Regions from separate parts of the Homo sapiens genome. Here all the other regions are linked to region 6. Evidence: promoter capture Hi-C in 16 types of primary human blood cells and fetal thymus (Javierre and others, 2016). All regions are on one chromosome and are shown on one strand. Each heading gives the region's core, a stretch centred on a gene start or on the middle of the fragment in contact. The rest is flanking DNA. Distances are from core to core; before and after follow the strand shown. Region 1 has its middle 65 kb from the start of INSIG1. Region 2 holds the start of LOC105375587 (a long non-coding RNA gene). Region 3 overlaps LINC03010 (long intergenic non-protein coding RNA 3010). Region 4 has its middle 12 kb from the start of INSIG1. Region 5 overlaps INSIG1 (insulin induced gene 1). Region 6 holds the start of PAXIP1-AS2 (PAXIP1 antisense RNA 2). Region 7 overlaps LOC105375594 (a long non-coding RNA gene).

Region 1 (2,700 bases), core at 194-2,693, 300 kb after region 6:
ATGTATGAATCTTAGGTGGAAAAGGTTAGAAAAGATCCTATCTACCAGGAAAAGAAAGAAAACGTGGACTTAATAAGGTCATTATGCCGAGCAGGGGCTTTGGGAATGTGCTTGATCCCTTCACGGCTCTAGAACAGCTATTCCGCCCCAGACTCCCATCACAAAAACCGCATTCGGGGTCTGTTGCCCGCAGCACCCACAGTTATCCCGCCCCAGACTCCCATCACAAAAACCGCATTTGGCATCTGTTGCCTGCAGCACCCCATGGATCACCACACACGGCTGTTTCTTACATTGGCTCAAGTTTCAGGGATGAGTGTGGGCATGAGTGCCACGGGGAACGAGGTGTGCTCGAGCCTCCTGAGCACTACCTGAAGGAGACAGACCGACCAGTCCTCCCAGGTTTCCGTCTCGGCAGCGGCCGTCCATCCGGCTGGCCCGTCCATGCCCATGCCCATGCCCATGCCCATGTACTGGCGATTCCAAAGCTTCATTTTACGTGAAAATCACAGGGGAAAAGTGCAGCTTCCCTGGCCCCTGTTACCAGGGACTCTGATTCTGAGGGACCAGACTGGGAGTAGGTTCCTTCCTTAACAAGTCCTCCGGGATTCAGACGCTGGTGGCCCAGAGGCCACCCAAGAGACACTGCCGGGAGCCGGGCGGGTTCCCCCACATGGCAGGCCAGAGGTCTCACTCTGCACACATCTCTCCTTTCTGCTGTTAGAGTCATTCTTTTGTGGAAACAGCGGCCTGGGCTGGTCCCCATCACTGAGACAGAATCCATAGGCTCAGATGAGGCCTAAACAATGATACACCAGTCTCATCCACTCCACAGCACCGAATTTTCTGAGATTTAACGAGAGCCGACTCACTGGGAATATCTCCGGAGCAAGGAATTAAACGCCTGACCAGAGCCTCAAAGTGGAGGACAGAGGCCTCCACCCCTGGCTGCCCACTGCAGCTGCTTCGGCCAAGTCATGCGACATTTCTGTCTTGACCAGTGGAAACCCATGCAGTTGTTCCCTGTGGTCGAGGGAACAATGGCCCCAGAGACATCCACGTCTGGATCCCTGGAATGCGAGCCTGTGTCAGGTTCCATGGCAGAGGATGATGGTTGCTCATCGGTGGCCTTGAGACGAGAGATTCTCCTGGATCATCCAGTGGGTGAATGTCATCCCAGGTGCTTCTGGTGAGGAGGAAGGGAGAGGAGTCGGAGGAAGGGCTGCGCTGCCAGATACAGTCAGAGAGATGCTGCTGCAGCTGCAAGACAGAAGGGCCCAAGCCCAGTGAGGTGGCCATCCTCCAACCTGGAAAAGGCAAGAAAACGGGGGCTCCCCTGGAGTCCCCAGAAGGATGCAGTGTGCTGACACCTGGCCGTAGCCCAGTGAGACCCGTAGTGGACCTTTGAACCACAGAACTCTCGGATAATAAATTTGTGTTGTCTTAAGCCATTAAGTTTGTGGTAATTTACCATAATAGCAGCAAAAGAAAACTCCCACAGCCCTTGCCCACTTGAGGACCTGCTGCAAAGCTGGGAAGAGGAAGGAGGCAGGAGGCTTCGCTCCGTCCGTCCTTTCTGTTTTAGGGCCTGCACATTTTGTTGTTCCTTCTTGATTTCTATCCTTAATGATCACAGTGATTTGGGGTAATATGAGCATCAAAGTGCTTTTTTGCTGAAGACCTGTTTGCTTGTTGCCAGTTTTATAGTGACCCAATAGAATAAGACCAGTAAATTTATTGATGGCAGAAATTAGCCATGTCCTTAAACGCTTTCACAGGGCAGACAGAGACGTCTTAGTCTTCGTGGTGGAGTTGAGACCGAGGCAGTATCTTCAAAGGTGTATTAAGGTGCCTTTGTTGTCGGCTTTCAACGCCTCCTTTGAAGGACTCGCTCACTTCCCCGGCAGGTGAGTAAGCAGCTCACAGGGACCCCGTGAGCAAAGCCTGCAAGGGGCAGAGCCAGGCTGCAAACCCAGGCCCTGCACACGGCTCTCACGCTTCTGTCACACCACACCCAGAGCATCAGTGCCTCTAATCAACCAACATTTCAGTTCCTACGGTTCAAAATGGGCCTTACAGGACTTCAAAGCATCGATAATTCAGACATTTGCTTGGTAAATCCTCTATCATGGAATATGATGAAGGCAACTTCAGATCAACAAACTGGTGTCTGAATTATCACACATTCTGAAATCAGAGACGTCCAGTGAAAAGAGATTTGTCTAGTAAAAGTAATTCCAGATGTGTAACCCAAAGGACTCGTCTAGGAAGTTCCAGTGGGAAGGACTTTGCTGCTCTCCAGCACGAGTTATTTTCTCCCAGGACTTTTTCAGCCTGCCAGCCGTACACTTCCCAGACATTTCACCAAATGAAGAGAGAAAGGAAAACAAACAAACGAAAAGCTTTCTTTAAGTAGCTTTGAACTTTGCACTAGACAGATCCAAATTCATTGGCTTCTGCACTAAAGCTGTCTCCAAGACATCCCTGTTAGGTTCGTAACTAAATCGCCCACTAATATTTATGCTCTGTCTTAAACAAAGGAAATAGGAGCTGTTGTCAAGGACACGGTGGGGCAGGCAAGGCGAGCCGGTTTCTGGTGCAGACACAGCCCAGAGACAAGCTTCAAAAGGACAGCTCTGCCTGGGCCCTCAGAGACGCGCAGCTGCGTCAGCGTGGACTCTGGGTGGTGCCGGATTGTGG
Region 2 (2,700 bases), core at 98-2,597, 320 kb after region 6:
CACGGCTCAGCTCCGGGTGCGGGGTGGAAATCAGGGTTAACCAGAGGGCAATGGGAGAAAATGATGTGGGGCACTCATTTAAATTATCTGCAGGACTCTGTATCATGAAGATAAACTTATTGCAGCCCTAGCTCATGTTTCCAGAGCAGAGTCCTGAGGAGAAGGAGCACTTACCAAGGACGAATGGGTCACTGCGTGGTCTGCAAATAGCATCTGGAAAACAAGAAGCTGGGACCTTGGAAACAGCAAGAGTCAGAGTTGGTCGGGGAGCTTGCCCTGGACACAGTGGGCTTCAGTCTAGAAGACACCGAAAGACAGAGCGAACTCCCTCCTCCTACAAACTGTTCACACAGTGGGAAGGAGGACGGGGTTTAGCAACACGCTGTCTCAAAAATGTGCACTGTCAGGCAAATATGTGCTTGTAACACCAGCCCTGGAGAGGAAAGTCTCTCTGGGCTTCGGTCCCTAACCTTTACCCTAAACATTAATATATCAATCGGCAGCGGCCCTGGAGAAGTTGCTGATGGCATCAGAGAATGAGGGCATTCACTAAGCTGTCACAGCAGACCCAGATGCAGTGGCGGAATTAATTTTTCCTTCATTAATCATATCCTAATTTGCATGATTAATATGTCATAGTTGATGAACACGGGCGGATACAAATAAAATCACTGAACAAAAATGCCACCTGCTGAGCAAAAAGAATAAGACAAACAAGTGAGTTGGCACAGCTAAATGAGCAGGAGTCACTTTATTTCCCAAAAACAATATTCCAAAAGCTTGAAACAATGCCACTATTGGGGCCGCTTGCCGAGGACTGTGGAGACAGACATTCCCAGAGTTTTCCACGGTGGGATGAGCTCCAGGGTACACACAACTGTCACAGCTTGCCATTGGACAATTCTAAAAACTCACCTTTCGAACCTCGCCTGTTTCCCAAGCGGAACCCAGGCCAAGGGGCGGGATGTTCCAGGACAAAGTGGTGCCACCTCGTCAGCCCAGGCCCACTTCCTCCAGCTACGAACCTCAGCCATTTCTGGCCAGCGGCTCTGGGGCAGAAACTGGGGCAGGGCATTGCCAAGGACACAAGCAAGGGGAGCGGAGGAGGAGAGGAAGCAGGGAGCGACCGTGGAATGGCCTCGGACCTGGGGCAGAGCCTTCGGGATGCTGGAAGCTGCTCAGGGGCCGTGGCTGAGGCCCAGGCAGCCACCAGGGGGGACTCCGACTGGGGTCCAGGGGCAGGCAATGCCCAGCCTCCCTGGAGCGTGGGTTTCCTTCAAGGCCACGTGGCAGAAGCAGCCACAGGAGAAGCAGCGCAGTTTTCCGCAGCGGTGGGAATGTCCTAGACCTGGCACATCCCGACAGTAGTCACTGGCACACGTGGCAGTGGAACACATGAATGTGGCCAGGGCGGCTGAGAAGCAGACATTTTCATTTCATTTTAATTAATTTAAATTGAAAAACCCACGTAGGGCTAGTGGTCCCTGGCGGGCAGCTGAAGGGAGTGTGGGGACCACAGCACTTCCCTGGCTGTGGGACCTGGAGAGGTATTCCTCCTTTGCAGCTCCGTCCTCCTCTGAGGCTGAGGGGTTGGATGGGGGCATCCCTGGAGCCCCCAGTCTGCACTTCCTGACTGGAGTGTGGAAGGCGCCTGCTCTGTTTGTTTCCACTATCCTTCCACAACCTTCACTGTCTCCCTCCCCTCTGCTTACCGAAAACTGCCTCCTGCCAGACTAAGTTCCTGGCCCCTCACTTTCCAGCCGCATCCCCCACGTCTCTACCACGTGAACAGACCCTCAGCCCTCAAACACACCTGTGCCTCCCACACCACCCCGTACCTTGTCTGTGCCATTCCCCATGGCTCTTCCCCACCCACTCAATACTGATGGAGACCCACCTCAAGCCTGATGTTCTGGAAGCTTCCCAGAGCTCCATGGCCCACAGGCTTCTCACTCCCCCACCATTTAGAAGGAACCCAGCCTCTGGCTGTGGTAGCTTGCAGGGCAGTCCTCTTTATCTCACTGTTACTTGATAGCAACAATGTTGCAATGTCTTGGAAACTGTGTAACAACCTGGCAAGGCTGAGCACACCTGCCCACAGAGCGGGGAGGTGCGCAGCCTGTCCTCAACGCCAACTAGCAGGGCGGCCTGAGGAGGTGACTGCATCTCCTCATGGTCTCCTCACCGGAAACATGAGGATCATGCTGCTTCCTTTTGGGGTTCATGTAAGAGCCAGGCGCTCACCTGTGCCAAACGCCCTGCCCGCCCTGGCCTGGGTTCAGGGTTTTCAATCCATGCTGTGCTCCCTAAAAGACAGGCCACTCCTCTGCTCTCCAGCACCTGAGGAAACGTTGTTGCTGGTTGCAGGATTCCTTAGTCTAATCCTAACACCTCAGTGGCTTCATCCTGGCCTCATGCATTGTGCTGGAGCCTGGTTTCTGGTGCAGGAAAGTTGTAAGAATGCGTTCCCTGCCATCTCGTTTCTATTTTGAACTATCTGGCCCAAACCCTTTTCTTTAGTTTTCTCCTCTTCCCTTGGGGAAAAAGAAAAGGAGAAAAAAGGAAAGAAAAGGACAAAAAAGAAATGGAGAAGAGAAGCAAGACAGAGGCTGCTCTGAAATGGTTTCTGCACCTTCTCCAATACAAAGGGCAGTAAGATTGAGTAGGATGAGACAGCTATGACTTCCTATTCCCTTTTCC
Region 3 (2,700 bases), core at 103-2,602, 460 kb after region 6:
GTGGCTGAGAGTTCACAGTTCACGTAACTGAGCTCAAAATCCTACCGTCTTGAAAGGGTCCGTGCCTGCTGGAGTCTAAGATGTCGGAGAGCTGGTTTCAATATGCACAGGCTGGGAGGCAGGATTAATAATGCATCCTCCTTCACAACCACAGGTTCTACAGCTGTGGATAATATTGCAGAGAAAGCGTAGCCAGTGCAGTCCCTGAAGCCAACATGTGAACGGCCTGGAGTCAAACGTTTAAGGAGCCTAAGCTCGAAATGGCGATGAGTTCAGAAAATGTGCAGTCATTCAATACCCAAATGCTTCTTTCCTTTTCTATGTTCGTATTAGACCTCGTGATAAATTGAGGGAGTTAAAGCAGTCCATTTATTTTAGGTGGGCCCAGCCCAGTTATGAACATGTTGAGACCTAGGAGGCCAAGAGGACCCACCTAAAACCCTCCCCCATTAAGGGCTGATGTGGTACCCCTGCAAACCCACTCCCTCGGGGCAGGAGATGCCTTCTCTGCAGAGTCCTGTTTCTGAAATCTGTGCAGTGTGTCCAGGTGAGTGAAGATCAGGACACCGTGAGGGAGAGCTGGGGGTACCCAGAGCTCTGCACAGGGGTGGGGAGGATGGCCAGAGCGGTCCCAGGTTGGAGATACGTGAGGAGAGCCGTGAGCCTCCTTGCTGCCCAGGGCCCCGTGTCCAGCCCACCTGCAGGGAACAGACCTCAGCCTCGCTTCCCCCTGTGGGGCCCATGTCCATGAGGGTTTGACCCTATAGACAGAATACTCTCAGATTGCAGCTTTCAAAAGTCAGCGCACTTTCTAAAGGGCTCCCCAAATGGGAAATTAGAGTACTGTGTAATTCTGTAAGGTTTCTGGAATTTCCATCCTAAGCATTGGAAAAAAGGGTAAAAATCCAAAAAGTCAAAAGAAAAGAGCCATTTACCATTGCTCAGAAGAAACAGTATAAAATATGTGCATTTGTTTTTCATGGAAAGTATGAAAAACCAGTTATGTGTTGCTTTAGGAATTGGGCTGGGCTTTGAAAGATGGAAAAGACAATTTAAAATTCAATTTTAAATTAGTGATGCTTTCTCTGGAATCTCCATTTTGTACCAATAGCCCTAGCAGCACGAGATCAAATTTTCCTCAGATATCAACCAAATGGCTTTCCTCGGAAGCTCAGGGGCGACCCACAGAGCGAGGGAGGGCCTTCTCCTGCCACCTCACCAGCGCAGTCAGAACTGATGTTTCTATCAGATGCCAGGCGTTTTGCTGCTGTCTTTGGTGACAACGATGGAAATGCCATTTTGCACAGACCGGGTTTGAAAGACCTTTTCCAGACTTGCTTTGGGAAAAGCACGGTTTTGCACTGAGATGGGTGATCTTTAGATGATACCTGGAAGGAATCCCTGGGGATTCTTTGCGGTGTGGCTCTGCCTGCGGATAGATGTCCCAGGAGCCATTGAAAGGTGGCCGGCCATTTCTCATTTCCCCCCATGATGGACTTTGCCCGGCGTTCCATAACGGCGCAGGCTTACCCACCGGGCCAACTTCAACCTTTCTACCCAAAGCACCAACACTGAGCCTGTGTCTGGTCTTTGTGTGAAACACTTTCTTCCTAAGTAATCCTAGGGAGGAGGAGAACCCGGGACCAGGAGAGAGGTGCTGAGAAGCAGGCCCGGCTTCCCACCTGCCTGCAGGGCCTCTGCATGCTGGGGACTCGGGTGACTGGGTACGCAGGTGCCTCCCGCCATCCTTGCTTGGCGGTGCTCACTAGGCAGGTTTCTTTCTGAAGGTGTCTTCTGGGAACAATAGCGTGGGGTTTTTTCTTCACATGGCTGGGAATGGCATTGTCTGGAAGAGGAGGACTAGGGCAGGTTCCAGGGGCAGGCGTTACCCTGAGCAAACACTATTTTCTGCTGTGAGTATTTTGGCTCCAGTGAATCAGTGTGTGAATGCTCAGCAGTCCCACATCAGAAAGCCAGCAGCTGCAGAGCACTCATCCACAGGCGCGGACAAAGAGGCTGCGATCTCATCCACTTTGCAGAGGACGGTGAAATGGTGACTTACCCCAACCTGCATCTCTTCCTGTTCTCCAGGCCCATTGTTCCTCCAGCCACGTTTCTGAATTTACAATATTTAATTGCAGCTTCACGAAAAAATAATCCCTGCTTAAGGATGTTCTAACAATGGCATGCCAGGGAGCCGGCTCATAATCACACAAGGTAGTGAGTGGCCTTGTGTGACTGCTGAGCAGAGGGCCTGGGCAACCTCTGAGGGTTCCTCCTGCCCCAGGGACCAGCAGGACAGATAAAAACCCTCTCGGAAGGGATTTGCACTCACAAATGTGAAATCATGTGGGTTAGCCCTGGGGACAGCTGCTGCCACCCTCGGCTTCATCCAGAGTTCTGTGACTTTCAGCCACCATGGACCAGCCAGGCATATCAGAACTTAGTAGTCACTCACCACATGAGGTCTGCAGTGAGTCACCTGGGCTCATCATCAAATACAGGACAAGAGGAGGAAACAGACCTGCCACCTAACCCTTCCAATGTGTCACCCCTCTACCCCATCCCTGCCATGTGAAGGGAAAAGAGTCAGTAATAATGTTGGGTGGGAGTGTTGGGCTGTGGTTGAGAGTTCTTATTTATTAATACTTCATTCTTAAACTTTCTTAGAAACAGGGAACTTACCCTATAAAGGGAACC
Region 4 (2,700 bases), core at 119-2,618, 360 kb after region 6:
ACCTCCGTCTCCTGGGTTCAAGCGATTCTCCTGCCTCAGCCTCCCGAGTAGCTGGGATTACAGACGTGCACCATCATGCCCAGCTAATGTTTGTATTTTTAGTAGAGATGGGGTTTCACCATGTTGGCCAGGCTGGTCTCAAATGTCTGACCTCAAGTGATCCACCTGCCTCAGCCTCCCAAAGTGCTGGGATTACAGGCATGAGCCACCTCGCCTGGATGGGCTTTTCTAATATTATTAAATGGCCCAGTGCCTCCGTGTCCAAGCTCCCAGGGAGCCCTGCCCTGGTGTAAGGCAACGGCCCCCCAGCGATCTTGGGTTAAGTGGGAGGAAGCCTGCATGTCCGCAGCAGCCTCCACGTCCTTAGCCCCAGAGATGGCTTTCAGAGGCTTCCGTGTCATCCCTGGGAACCTGGACTGAGGACAGCCAGGCTTGCAGAGGGGTCAGTTCTTCCTGAAAGCAGCTTGCTGAGAGTGGGACAAGAAGTAGTGATAAGTCCTCCAGGTCCCAGCAGGAACCAGAAGTCCCCTGGACCCTCTAAGGAAAGACGCATTAATGAAAAGACTACTTGGAGAGGTGTGGCCAGGGTGAAGGAACAAACAAGGGCTGGTGAGGCAACCAAACACAGGAGACAGAGGAAGTCATTCCCTTCCCCAGGGCTGCAGACCAAGGAAGGAGCCAAGCGGACCCACCTTCCCATCCTCAGGGCTGCAGACTAAGTGGGAAGCTGGGAGGGTCCACCTTGGGAGCAGCTATTGTCCAGGGATGGGGGCACAGCCACTGCTGCAGACAGAGGGCTGGGCAAGGAGGGAGCAGGACGGGCATCCAACCTCCCTCTCTCACCCTCTCAACCTGCTGTCACCACCTGCAGAGGTAGTGGGCCAGCAGGCAGCCTGGGGAGCCAGGCAGGACCCAGAAGGGCAGAGAATGGATCAGGAGACTGAGAGCAAAGGGAGAGAGACCAGCACAGGGGATGAGACCTCTGGGGGACTCACCCTGGGAGAACTCAATCAAGGGACACATTGTTGGATCACCAGGTGACCCAGAAGAGATGAAGGAGATGAGAACAGAGAGAATTCTTGCAATGAAGCTCAGCTCTAGCAAACACTAACCTCCGGAGTGCAGACAGCATGACAGCACACAGATGGAGGCCTGAGAGGGCAGGGAAGAGAGGCCAGAGAATATGCAGAGAAGAAGCTCAAGAAGGACAAAGAAGCCTAATGAAGGACCTGCTGCCTTGTGGATGCCGCTGGAGCTTCCAGCAGCTGAGAGCACAGAGCATTGCACCCAAAGACGATGCCCCTGCCCTCACCCCTCTGCTGTTCTGTCTCCTCTTCATCGCTTTCGCACTCCAACCCCAGGGACTTATGGAACATAGGTCCCGGCAGGACCTAATGTCAAGGAAGAACCAGGCCGATGTCATTTCTGCCTCCTTCCGTATTTTTTTTACTGTGGTAAGTCATATATAACATAAAACTTACCCTTTAATCATGTTCAAGTGCACAGTTCTGTGGCATTACGCACACTCGCATCGTTGTGCCATCGCCACCATCCATCTCCAGACCCTTTTCATCTTCTGAAAGGAAACTCTGTCCCCACCAAACACTCATGCCCCATCCCTCCCCCAGACTCCGGCACCCCCCACTCTCCTGTCCGCCTCTGTGATCTGACGACTCTGGGGACCTCATATGAGTGGAGGAGTCTTTGTCCTTTTGCGACTGGCTGATTTCACTCACCATAACATCCTCCAGTTTCCTCCATCTCCTTCCTGTTTACAGCTGAGTGATATTCTATGGTACGGAAAGGCCCCATCTTGCTCACTCGCCCATTCACCCATCAGTGGACTTTGGGTTATCTCCACCCTTGGCTCTTGTGAATGTTGCTGTGAGGGGCACGGGGGTACCCGTATCTCTTCAAGGCCCTGCACTCAGTTTCTGTGTGCAAACACCCAGAAGTAGACTTGCTGGCTCACATGGTAGTTCTTTTCTTTCTTTTATTTCTTTTCAGAAACCCCCTGTGATGGTTGATACTGAGTGTCAACTGGATTGGATTGAGGGATACAAAGTATTGATCCTGGGTGTGTCTCTGAGGGTGTTGCCAAAGGAGATGAACATTTGAGTCAGTGTGCTGGGAAAGGCAGATCCACCCTCAATCCGGATGGGCTCCATCTAATCAGCTGCCACGGCGGCTAGAATATAAAGCAGGCAGAAAAATGTGAAAACAGACACTGGCTTAGCCTCCCAGACTACATCTTTCTCCCGTGCTGGATGCTTCCTGCTCTTGAACATCAGACTCCAAGTTCTTCTGTTTTGGAACTGGGACTGGCTCTCCTTGCTCCTCAGCCTGCAGACGGCCTATTGTGGGACCCTGTGATTGTGTGAGTTAATACTTAATAAACTCCCCTTCATATATATGTATCTATTCCATTAGTTCTGTCCCTCTGGAGAACCCTGACTAATACACCGCCGTGCTGTTTTCTGGAGCAGCTGCATCATTTCACATTCTCACCAACAGCACACAAGGGTTCCAATCTCTCTACGCCCTCATCAGTGCGTGTTCTTTTCTGGTTTTTGTTTTTACAATACCCATCCTAAAGGGTGTGAAGTGACGACCCACTGTGGTTTTGATTCGCATTTCCCTGCTGACTGGTGAAGCTAAGTGCCTTTCCATGTGCTTGTGGGCCACCTGCACTGTCTTCTT
Region 5 (2,700 bases), core at 1-2,500, 370 kb after region 6:
AGTAATGTACTGTGTTACTAATGACCACGTTGAAATTCTGGAACTTGAATCTGCTGTATTCTAACATTGTCAACTTTTTTAAAACAGCTGTTGTTGGCCTACTGTACCCCTGTATCGACAGTCACCTCGGAGAACCCCACAAATTTAAGAGAGAATGGGCCAGTGTCATGCGCTGCATAGCAGTTTTTGTTGGCATTAACCACGCCAGTGCTGTATCCTTAATTTTCTGTGCTACGTCCAGAGTATCTTCTTAGGTTATATATTGAAGCGTTTTGTTTTGTTATATACTCAAATGACTCCATGTCATAATACAGACATGATGGTGGTACCTACCCATTTCAGATTACTAAAAAGAGAAAGAAGAATGGGGCTATCGATGACTTCATAGTAAAATATATTGTTTTATGGTCAAAATAAATATATATTTATTTATATTTTTATATATATTATATATATTTTTAAATATATATAATATATATAATAAATATATATTTATATAAATATATATAAGCACTTTATATATAGCTTTCAGCAAGTTTATTCTTATGGTTAAGTTTTTGACTCAGTGATGGCAGGGAGATTTCAGGTGATCTTAATGATTACTGTAACCTGTATCCAACAAATCCTTTCTTTAGCTTATTACACAGTTTTTATGGACAGTGAATTATCTGTGGTACAATAATAAAATACCCATGTTTTTAACCCTTGTGGTTTTACGTTTTTTTATCTTAATAAGAGTCAGCAAACTTTTCCTTAACTTTTATATCACCAGAAATTGGATTTTGCCAATAATGTCCAGCTGTCCTTGACTTTAGCAGCCCTATCTTTGGGCCTTTGGTGGACATTTGATCGTTCCAGAAGTGGCCTTGGGCTGGGGATCACCATAGCTTTTCTAGCTACGCTGATCACGCAGTTTCTCGTGTATAATGGTGTCTATCAGTAAGTGTGTGTTTTCAAATATTGGCTTTGGAAAGCTTACTTAACTTTCATTAAAACATCCACTAAGCTTAGATATTTTCATATTTTATTTGTTTTTTATATAGAATGATACAGATTTAGGCATGAAATTCTCAAAAATGCTGCTATCCATAACTTAATGTAACGCAAAGGAAAACCAAGTAGTAGCAGTTACAACCAAACAAATATGAACATTCGTAACATTGGATGGTTGATATGCGTTCTGCATATCCCCACTACAGAGAATCTGTGATGTAGAATTGAGCCAGGTGAAATTGACTGCTAAGGTACAGTTTCTTTTCTCGCTCCAGGTATACATCCCCAGATTTCCTCTATATTCGTTCTTGGCTCCCTTGTATATTTTTCTCAGGAGGCGTCACGGTGGGGAACATAGGACGACAGTTAGCTATGGTAAGTGAAATGATCATATTATCTTCTAAAACTTGCGTCTCTTTACCTTGATAGAATGACTTTACATGATACATTCAAATTTGCGTTCATATATTCTGGTTCAGACTTGAGTGACAACTACTGAGAAAAGCTTATATTTAAAAAAATAGGTAATGATACCCAGGTAATTCTTTGCTAAATTATAAAAATTCATAATATTTGATCTAGAAAAGGAACTAGAGCCCTCGCACTGCCCCTTTGAATTGCAGATGTGGTCAGTGTTCTGAATTCTTGAAATTTCTGTAGTAAGCAGTAGAGAAAGTGACTGGTGTGTGAGTGTCCCCTCCTCCTTCACCATCGGAAGCAGATCTGGATGACCTCATGCAGTGATACTTTGCTCCCTGAGCATCAGTCCACCAGTGTTTCTTTTCACAAAATCAGAGTGGATGCAGATGATGCTGGCCTCTTAGTCCACAGTCAAGCAAATCGAGCCTGAGGCTGCAGAGTCTGTCTCGGGCCAGGGCAGGGACTAATGTGGGTGGGCAAGGGGACAGCCTGGTTCAGGCAGGCAGCACCTTTCTGTGGGGCAGGTGGCCCTGGGCATGGAGAAGTGGTGATGAGAGCACCGCTGCACGTGGCCGGGTCACCATGTAGACGGACTGTCCTGCCTGAACATTGCATCTGTTCTCAGCTGCAGGAGAAAGCAGTGCTACCCCGCAGAGCTTCTCTCACAGCCCCCCTGAGGGAGACGGAAAGGTAGTGAACTCCAGGATGGCTTTAGCAGTTCTCATTAGTTAAAAATTGACATCTTAGCACTTCAATTTAAAAACATAGAGGTGGACTTTTAAATGTTATTTTGAGTTGACTTTGGCAGGCTGAAAGAAAGTAAATTAAAAAAAACAACAAAAACCTAGAGCTGTTGCTCTCGGAGATAAGCTCTGGGAAAACTTATCTTAGTACCTCATGCTATTTTTAAAACAGTACATTTATTTTTGCCAGCTGATACCCTTCTGTGAGGAGTTGAATTTGAAGACCACTTGGCTGTTTCACAAAACCAGAAGTAATTACAGGTAGAATTTGCAGTCTTCCACTGGTTACTGACTCTCTGCTGCCAAATTTCTCATGATGGAGAAGAAAGGACTTTGCTTGCCTTTTTTTTTTTTTTTTTTTTTTGAGACAGAGCTCTGGAGTGCAGTGGTGCCATCATAGCTCACTGTAACCTTGAGCTCCCGGACTCAAGCAATCCTCCCGCTTCAGCGTCCCGAGTAGCTGGGATTACAGGCACATGCCACCATACCCGGCTAACTTTTTTGCTTTTTGTGGAGATGTTATCTCCCTGCCTTGTCCAGGCCG
Region 6 (2,700 bases), core at 201-2,700:
TTCTGAACATTTATGAAGATCCCTAACAGATTTCTCCAGTGAGCTTTGTCTAGCCAGCCTTTAGCTTTAATTTTTGCTACTAACATGTGAATCTGTTGCTAGAAGTCAGAATAACTAGGGTCATAAGCTTGGATATTTAATTCAAATTTCCTAGCAAAACCAATAGGAACCTGGTGAAGATCAAGGAATTCTTTTAACTATGCCTGTAAGTTTGATCATGATTGATAAAGCAGGTTCCCCTCTACCAGATGCTGGATGAAATGGAGCCAAACCAGTGGGAGCAGGAGGAGGGGCAGGAGGAGGAGGAGGAGAAGGTCAATCAGGGCTGGGTAGTTCTGACAAGGAGGCTTAGAGAGACAGGGGAGCAGGGAGAGAAGAAGACATTTCAGTGTTTTTTAAAATTCAGTAATGGTTTTAGAGTGCTTTTTATTTTCTTCCTCTAAGGGAAGAATTCTGTCAAAACCTCTTTTGGATGCTTCTGGGTGCCATTGGAAGTAACTCTCTTAATTATTTTATTTGATTCCATAGCTGGCTTTTTAAAATTGTGCATATAAATAAACTAATCTAGCTATTTCAAAGATAATTCTCTTTGATCATTGTAATTTAGGATCTTCTTAGGTCAAATAAGACCATTTCTCCAACTATCGACAGGAGGTGGCGCCATAAGTCTTGTACATAAACCCCGCTGGAGTTTCCAAAGGTGCATTGCTTAATGAGGGCTTGGTTATAGATGGATAATTGCTCATAATTTGGATTCTCTTTTAAAATGCCCAAAGGCTAAAAGGGAAAAGTGTTTGGGGTCCAGTGTGCTGCTTAGTAGGGATTATTCCTGGAGGTATCACCTACAAGTAGCTTCTTCCCTCTTACCTACCTCAGAGAAACCCAGACATTTCTGGGAGTTCAAGGCACTGGGTGACGAACCCCTTGTGTGTTGTGTGCCCCGGGGGTTAAGCAGCTCTCCCTGTGAGTTCTTCTCTGGGGTTTGTTGTGAGCTTCCACACCCTTGTGTTACCTCCATTGCCTAAGGTGCCTTTCAGCTGGGAGAAAGAGTCCTTTTTGTCTTCAGCTTATCACGTCCTCATTCCAACCTTTTACAAATTTTGGGTGACTCAGGAAGAAACTTTAAATCTCAATGTTAACCAAGATCCAAAGCCTGGCTGGTTTAAAGCCACAAATTTGGCTTAAGCCACAAACATTCACTTTCTCCTTTTACAAAGAAAACTGCTTTCTCTTTAACCAAATGTCAAATGAGAGAAAAGGTTACAAACTTGAGCAAGTAAAAAAATGTCCAATGAGAGAAAAGGTTACAAACTTGAGCAAGTAAAATGTCCAATGAGAGAAAAGGTTACAAAAGAGCAAGTAAGACGAACGAAAACTTAACCTAATAGAAAAGTGAAACCACAAACCTGCCAATAGCAGAATCTTTAGAGAAATGACGCGAAACTCCTGCCTTAAAGCCCTAAATGGCGGCTTCAATATCAGTCCCACTGAGCATGAAATTCATTTACTTAAATAAAATCTGAATCTCAGCCCAAACCTGGGAGATTCAAAACCTGAGAGCGGTCTTACCAAAGACGCCCGTATGTCTGGTGAAGTCAGTTGGATGCAAGCAGTTTGTGCTGGTACCAGGGCCCCAGCTACTGATGAAGTGGCAGGAGTCCACAGAAGCCTACTTCGAAGTTCCCGGGGCTTCCAGGGGAGGTGAGAACACAAGTGATGGGAGAGCCTGGGGAGGGACTGTCTGGTGAGTAAAGGTTGTGCTGCTCTGTGGATGAAATGTCTCTGAGGTCGTAAACATCTCAGAGCCGCCTTCGGGAGAACGGGTGATAGTCATCTGGGCTGATGTCACCTCCAGTGTCCTCTCCTGTGATCTGTGTTAATCCTCCCAGATTGACGAGATTCCTGGGGAGGCGATTCATGACAGCTGAGTTCCTTTTGGAGGATCCGTCTTCAGGCAGGTAAGGGGAGCTCAGAGGAAACCTCTGCCTGCATCCGCTGATTCCCAAGTGCCCTCAGCTCACAGGGATCAGCACTCCCAAGTGCCATGGGGGTGGCATTTCCTGAACTCCTTCAAAGCAATAACAACAGGCTGGGCGTGGTGGCTTACGCCTGTAATCCCAGCACTTTAGGAGGCTGAAGTGTGAGGATTGCTTGAAGCCAGGAGTTCAAGACCAGCCTGGGCAACATAGGGAAACCCTGTCTCTACAAAGAATTAAAAGAAAACTTAGCCAGGAATGGCAGTGCACACATGTGGCCCCGCCTACTCGGGAGACTGAGGTGGGAGGAGTGCTTGAGCCAGGTGGTTGAGGCTGCAGGGAGCTGTGATTGCACCACTGCACTCCAGCCTGGGCAACAGAGTGAGACTCTATCTCAAAACAAACAAACAACAACAACAAAAGTGAAACAATAACAACAACTTTTACAAAACGGACATTTGGGATCTACATGCCACACTCCTAAATGCGTCTCTTAAGCAACAGGTGTCACAGTCTTAAACCTTGTCCTTACCCTCTTCATTCTAGGCACCTGTTTCATTCCAGGTAGGGCTTCCTCCTGGTTTCCTAACACAGCGGGTTGAGATGAACAGCAGAGAAGGACACTGCACACCTCTGCAGGGTCTCCCCTCTGGCCCACCAGCCCTCCCTTCTCCAGCAGTGAAGACCTCACTATGTCATCCAGGCAGGAATAATATAGACAGAA
Region 7 (2,704 bases), core at 172-2,671, 490 kb after region 6:
CACCTCATGACCTCATTTTAGCAGACTGTGTGAGAGAACTGTTGCCCACATTCTCACCAGACAGGCGTATGGTTCTTTGTTCTTTTCTCAACTCTTTCTAAGGAAAATCTCAAACATACACAAAAGTCCAGAGAACAGAACAACGAACCATACTCACCACCCAGCTGCGACCACCATCAGCTTTTACTAATTGTATTGCATCTGTTTCCCTGGCCATTTTCTGGAACATATTTAGAACAAATCCCTGCCAAACATTATGGTATTTCACCAACAGACACCCATACGCATTTCTAAGGCACCAAGAGTTTTTAGCAACCTAGGTGCAATCCCGTTAATTCCTCAATATCAGCAAAGGCCACAAGGCTTCTGCTAGTGAGTGTTAGGCTGTGGAGCACTTCAGTAGGCCTCAATTCCATCTCCCTCTTTGCTAGCGTGGTGGGACCACCTTCAGACCTTTGCTTTTGAGGTAGGAGGTGGGACCTGAGTCCAGAGGCGGGGCTCTTGGACACAGGACCAAATTGAAGACTAGCTGAAACAGGGAGGGGCAGAAAACCAGTGTGCCATGTCAGTTTACCATTGTCACGGCAATACCCGGAGTACCACCCCTTCAATAACCTGACAACCCGGAAGTTACCACCCTTTTCCTAAAAGTTCTGCATAAACCACCCCTAATTTGCATATAATTAAAAGTGGACCTAAACATGACTGCAGACCTGCCGCTAAGCTGCTACCCTGGGCGCACTGCCTATGGGGGAGCCCTGCTTTACCAAGAGCAGTCCCTCCGTTGCCGCCGCTGTGCACGGGGCTTCCACAAAAGCTTCTGCCTCACACCCCTGGCCCGCCCTGGAGTTCTTCCCTCCTGGGCAAGCCCCGATTTTGGTGTTTGCCTGTCCTGCATCGCTTTCATCTGGATTTCCTCCCATGTGAAATTAGCTGTGCAGATCCTTCCCTTTTTTTTTTTTCTATTGAATCATTTTCCTCTTATCAATACGTATGTTCTCTTTCTATATGAAGTTATATGCAGATTCAGAAGAGAAGGCTTCAGGCAAGTTCCTTCTCCAGCCCCTGCTCCCATCTCTCTCTTCCCTGTTTCTCTGGCCCTTGCTCTCATCTCTCTCTGCCCTGCTTGGAGGCATCCAGCCTTCTTCACCACAGGGAACATGGAGCTCAAAAGATAACACACACCTTAATGCTGTTGACAGCTGCCCCAGTGGCAAAGGGACATGTTTTCATCACCTACACCTTGTTTGGCCAGTTAGAGGGCTGTGTTTCTCAGAGTCAGGAAGTCCTGGGCCAGGTGGAGGAAAGAAATGGCGCAGCCACCTCTGGCCTCCTCCTGCTCCTCCTGGATCTGGGAGATGGCGCCCAGCCAAGCCCTCCATGCCCTGCCCGTGAGTGGGATGTCTGACTGCTCTCACCGTCTCTCCTTCTCCCCTTAACCCCAGGCCCAACCCCTCCGGGCTCACTGCTTGTGGTTTTTCTGCTTAGGAATTGGTCCCTGGGTGTAGCCCAGGCTTGTAGGGCCCCGTCCTCCCCAGCCCTGCTCCCCACTGTTCAGGGGCAGCCCCCCCACTCCTCCCACCTGCCGTGGCTCTTTGCTGCACCCTCCCTGGCCCAGTCTTGGCATTCGCCCTTATCAGTTCTCCGTCTTCTTTGAAGCTGAGACAGAGTATTGTCCCCCACTTGCTTGCAGATGCTAAGATGGAGTTTAGAGCACAGGATATTGATCAGGGACCCATGCCTGGGAAAGGGGCAGAGAGAGAAGCCCAGCAAGATGCACCCTGGCCCAGCCTCGGCACCCCCAGGGAGCCCTGGGCTGTGGGGCCTGTTAGAGTTGCTGCAGGTGGGCGGGAAGGGCTGGGCATTCATACCCCCCACAGCTGGTCCCGGGTAAGGTGACCATCTGCAGCTGAGGCAGCCTGAAGGAGGGACAGCTGGAGGTATCTGAGGCTGCTCTCCCAATGCTGGAGGGCAGGGCCTTCCCTGGAGGGATCCGAAGGGGCATTTCCATGCCCAGCTCATACAGGAAGCTTATTGGAGCCTCACATCTGGAAAGCACTACAGACCGCACCGCAGACCGCACGACAGACCGCACCGCAGACCGCTCTACAGACCGGCACATGCGCAACCCTGCCCGGCTGCTCTCCCTCCCTGCCTGGCTGCTCTCCCTCCCTGCCCAGCTGCTTTCTCTCCCTGCTGTGACCAGGCCATTTTGGTGCATTATCTGTGCTCAGCGCTTTCCTCCTCTATTTGATGACTTTTCCAGGCAGTGGGCCTGGGGGTGAAGTCCCCTTGACCTTTGGGCTCCACCCAGGCACCTGGAGCCCCTGGGCTCTTCCCCTGCAGGGAACTGTTAGCATCCTGCACTTTGCCCTCCTCCCATCCTGCCCACGGGAGATGCAGCGTGAACTCCTAGTCCTCAAAAAGGCTTAAAAATTGCTCTACATTTTATGTTTAACGTGTGGTTATGTTAAAAAATTCATAACTAATGACTTGAGGCTTTGTTCTTCTCCGTACTCCACCGGTGAGTCCCTGTGGAGCTGGGCACGTCCCTTGATTTATCTTGGTTTCAGTCTCCTCCTCTGTGAGGAGGTGGAGGAAGGAGCGCTTCTCTTCCAACGCAGGGAGTCACCCATGGGACAGTCTCTGGTCTGTGCACCTGGCTGCTGAGGAGGGAGCAGGAGGGCTGTGGAGGGTCTTCTCC

Evidence for each region. Contacts are between HindIII fragments. The CHiCAGO score rates a contact against its expected background, and 5 or more counts as called.
Region 1: a fragment that was not itself captured here is called in contact with the fragment with the promoter of PAXIP1-AS2 in region 6 in 2 of 17 cell types (activated CD4 T cells and neutrophils); the score reaches 5.8 in activated CD4 T cells.
Region 2: a contact is called between a fragment that was not itself captured here and the fragment with the promoter of PAXIP1-AS2 in region 6, in 4 of 17 cell types (total CD8 T cells, activated CD4 T cells, total B cells and 1 more). The highest score is 6.8, in total CD8 T cells.
Region 3: a contact is called between a fragment that was not itself captured here and the fragment with the promoter of PAXIP1-AS2 in region 6, in 4 of 17 cell types (neutrophils, naive B cells, activated CD4 T cells and 1 more). The highest score is 9.5, in neutrophils.
Region 4: a contact is called between a fragment that was not itself captured here and the fragment with the promoter of PAXIP1-AS2 in region 6, in 11 of 17 cell types (naive B cells, total B cells, total CD8 T cells and 8 more). The highest score is 11.0, in naive B cells.
Region 5: a fragment that was not itself captured here is called in contact with the fragment with the promoter of PAXIP1-AS2 in region 6 in 16 of 17 cell types (naive CD4 T cells, total CD4 T cells, total B cells and 13 more); the score reaches 20.5 in naive CD4 T cells.
Region 7: a fragment that was not itself captured here is called in contact with the fragment with the promoter of PAXIP1-AS2 in region 6 in 1 of 17 cell types (megakaryocytes); the score reaches 5.1 in megakaryocytes.

Annotation. Positions count from the first base shown.
Region 1 is chr7:155,231,133-155,233,832 of GRCh38, forward strand. No RefSeq gene overlaps it. Among named protein-coding and RNA genes, the nearest start is that of INSIG1, 65 kb to the right of the region's middle. The HindIII fragment of the contact is 1,914 bases long and covers 487-2,400 here.
Region 2 is chr7:155,252,119-155,254,818 of GRCh38, forward strand. LOC105375587 (a long non-coding RNA gene) reads right to left here and starts at 1,988. Exons shown (of 5, transcript XR_001745437.2): 1 at 1,898-1,988; 2 at 1-1,414. The HindIII fragment of the contact is 1,140 bases long and covers 778-1,917 here.
Region 3 is chr7:155,390,942-155,393,641 of GRCh38, forward strand. All of the region lies in intron 1 of LINC03010 (long intergenic non-protein coding RNA 3010), which reads left to right. Among named protein-coding and RNA genes, the nearest start is that of LINC03010, 10 kb to the left of the region's middle. The HindIII fragment of the contact is 4,739 bases long and covers 1-2,700 here.
Region 4 is chr7:155,284,307-155,287,006 of GRCh38, forward strand. No RefSeq gene overlaps it. Among named protein-coding and RNA genes, the nearest start is that of INSIG1, 12 kb to the right of the region's middle. The HindIII fragment of the contact is 3,692 bases long and covers 1-2,700 here.
Region 5 is chr7:155,301,479-155,304,178 of GRCh38, forward strand. It overlaps INSIG1 (insulin induced gene 1), which reads left to right. Exons shown (of 6, transcript NM_005542.6): 3 at 88-212; 4 at 773-939; 5 at 1,269-1,368. Among named protein-coding and RNA genes, the nearest start is that of INSIG1-DT, 3.8 kb to the left of the region's middle. The HindIII fragment of the contact is 492 bases long and covers 1,005-1,496 here.
Region 6 is chr7:154,927,067-154,929,766 of GRCh38, forward strand. PAXIP1-AS2 (PAXIP1 antisense RNA 2) reads left to right here and starts at 1,451. Exons shown (of 8, transcript NR_024476.1): 1 at 1,451-1,701; 2 at 1,890-1,958. RefSeq lists enhancers at 1,532-1,591, 1,612-1,711, 1,862-2,081. The HindIII fragment of the contact is 7,419 bases long and covers 126-2,700 here.
Region 7 is chr7:155,416,379-155,419,082 of GRCh38, forward strand. LOC105375594 (a long non-coding RNA gene) reads left to right here. Exons shown (of 4, transcript XR_928239.3): 4 at 2,018-2,451. Among named protein-coding and RNA genes, the nearest start is that of LINC03010, 36 kb to the left of the region's middle. The HindIII fragment of the contact is 1,213 bases long and covers 816-2,028 here.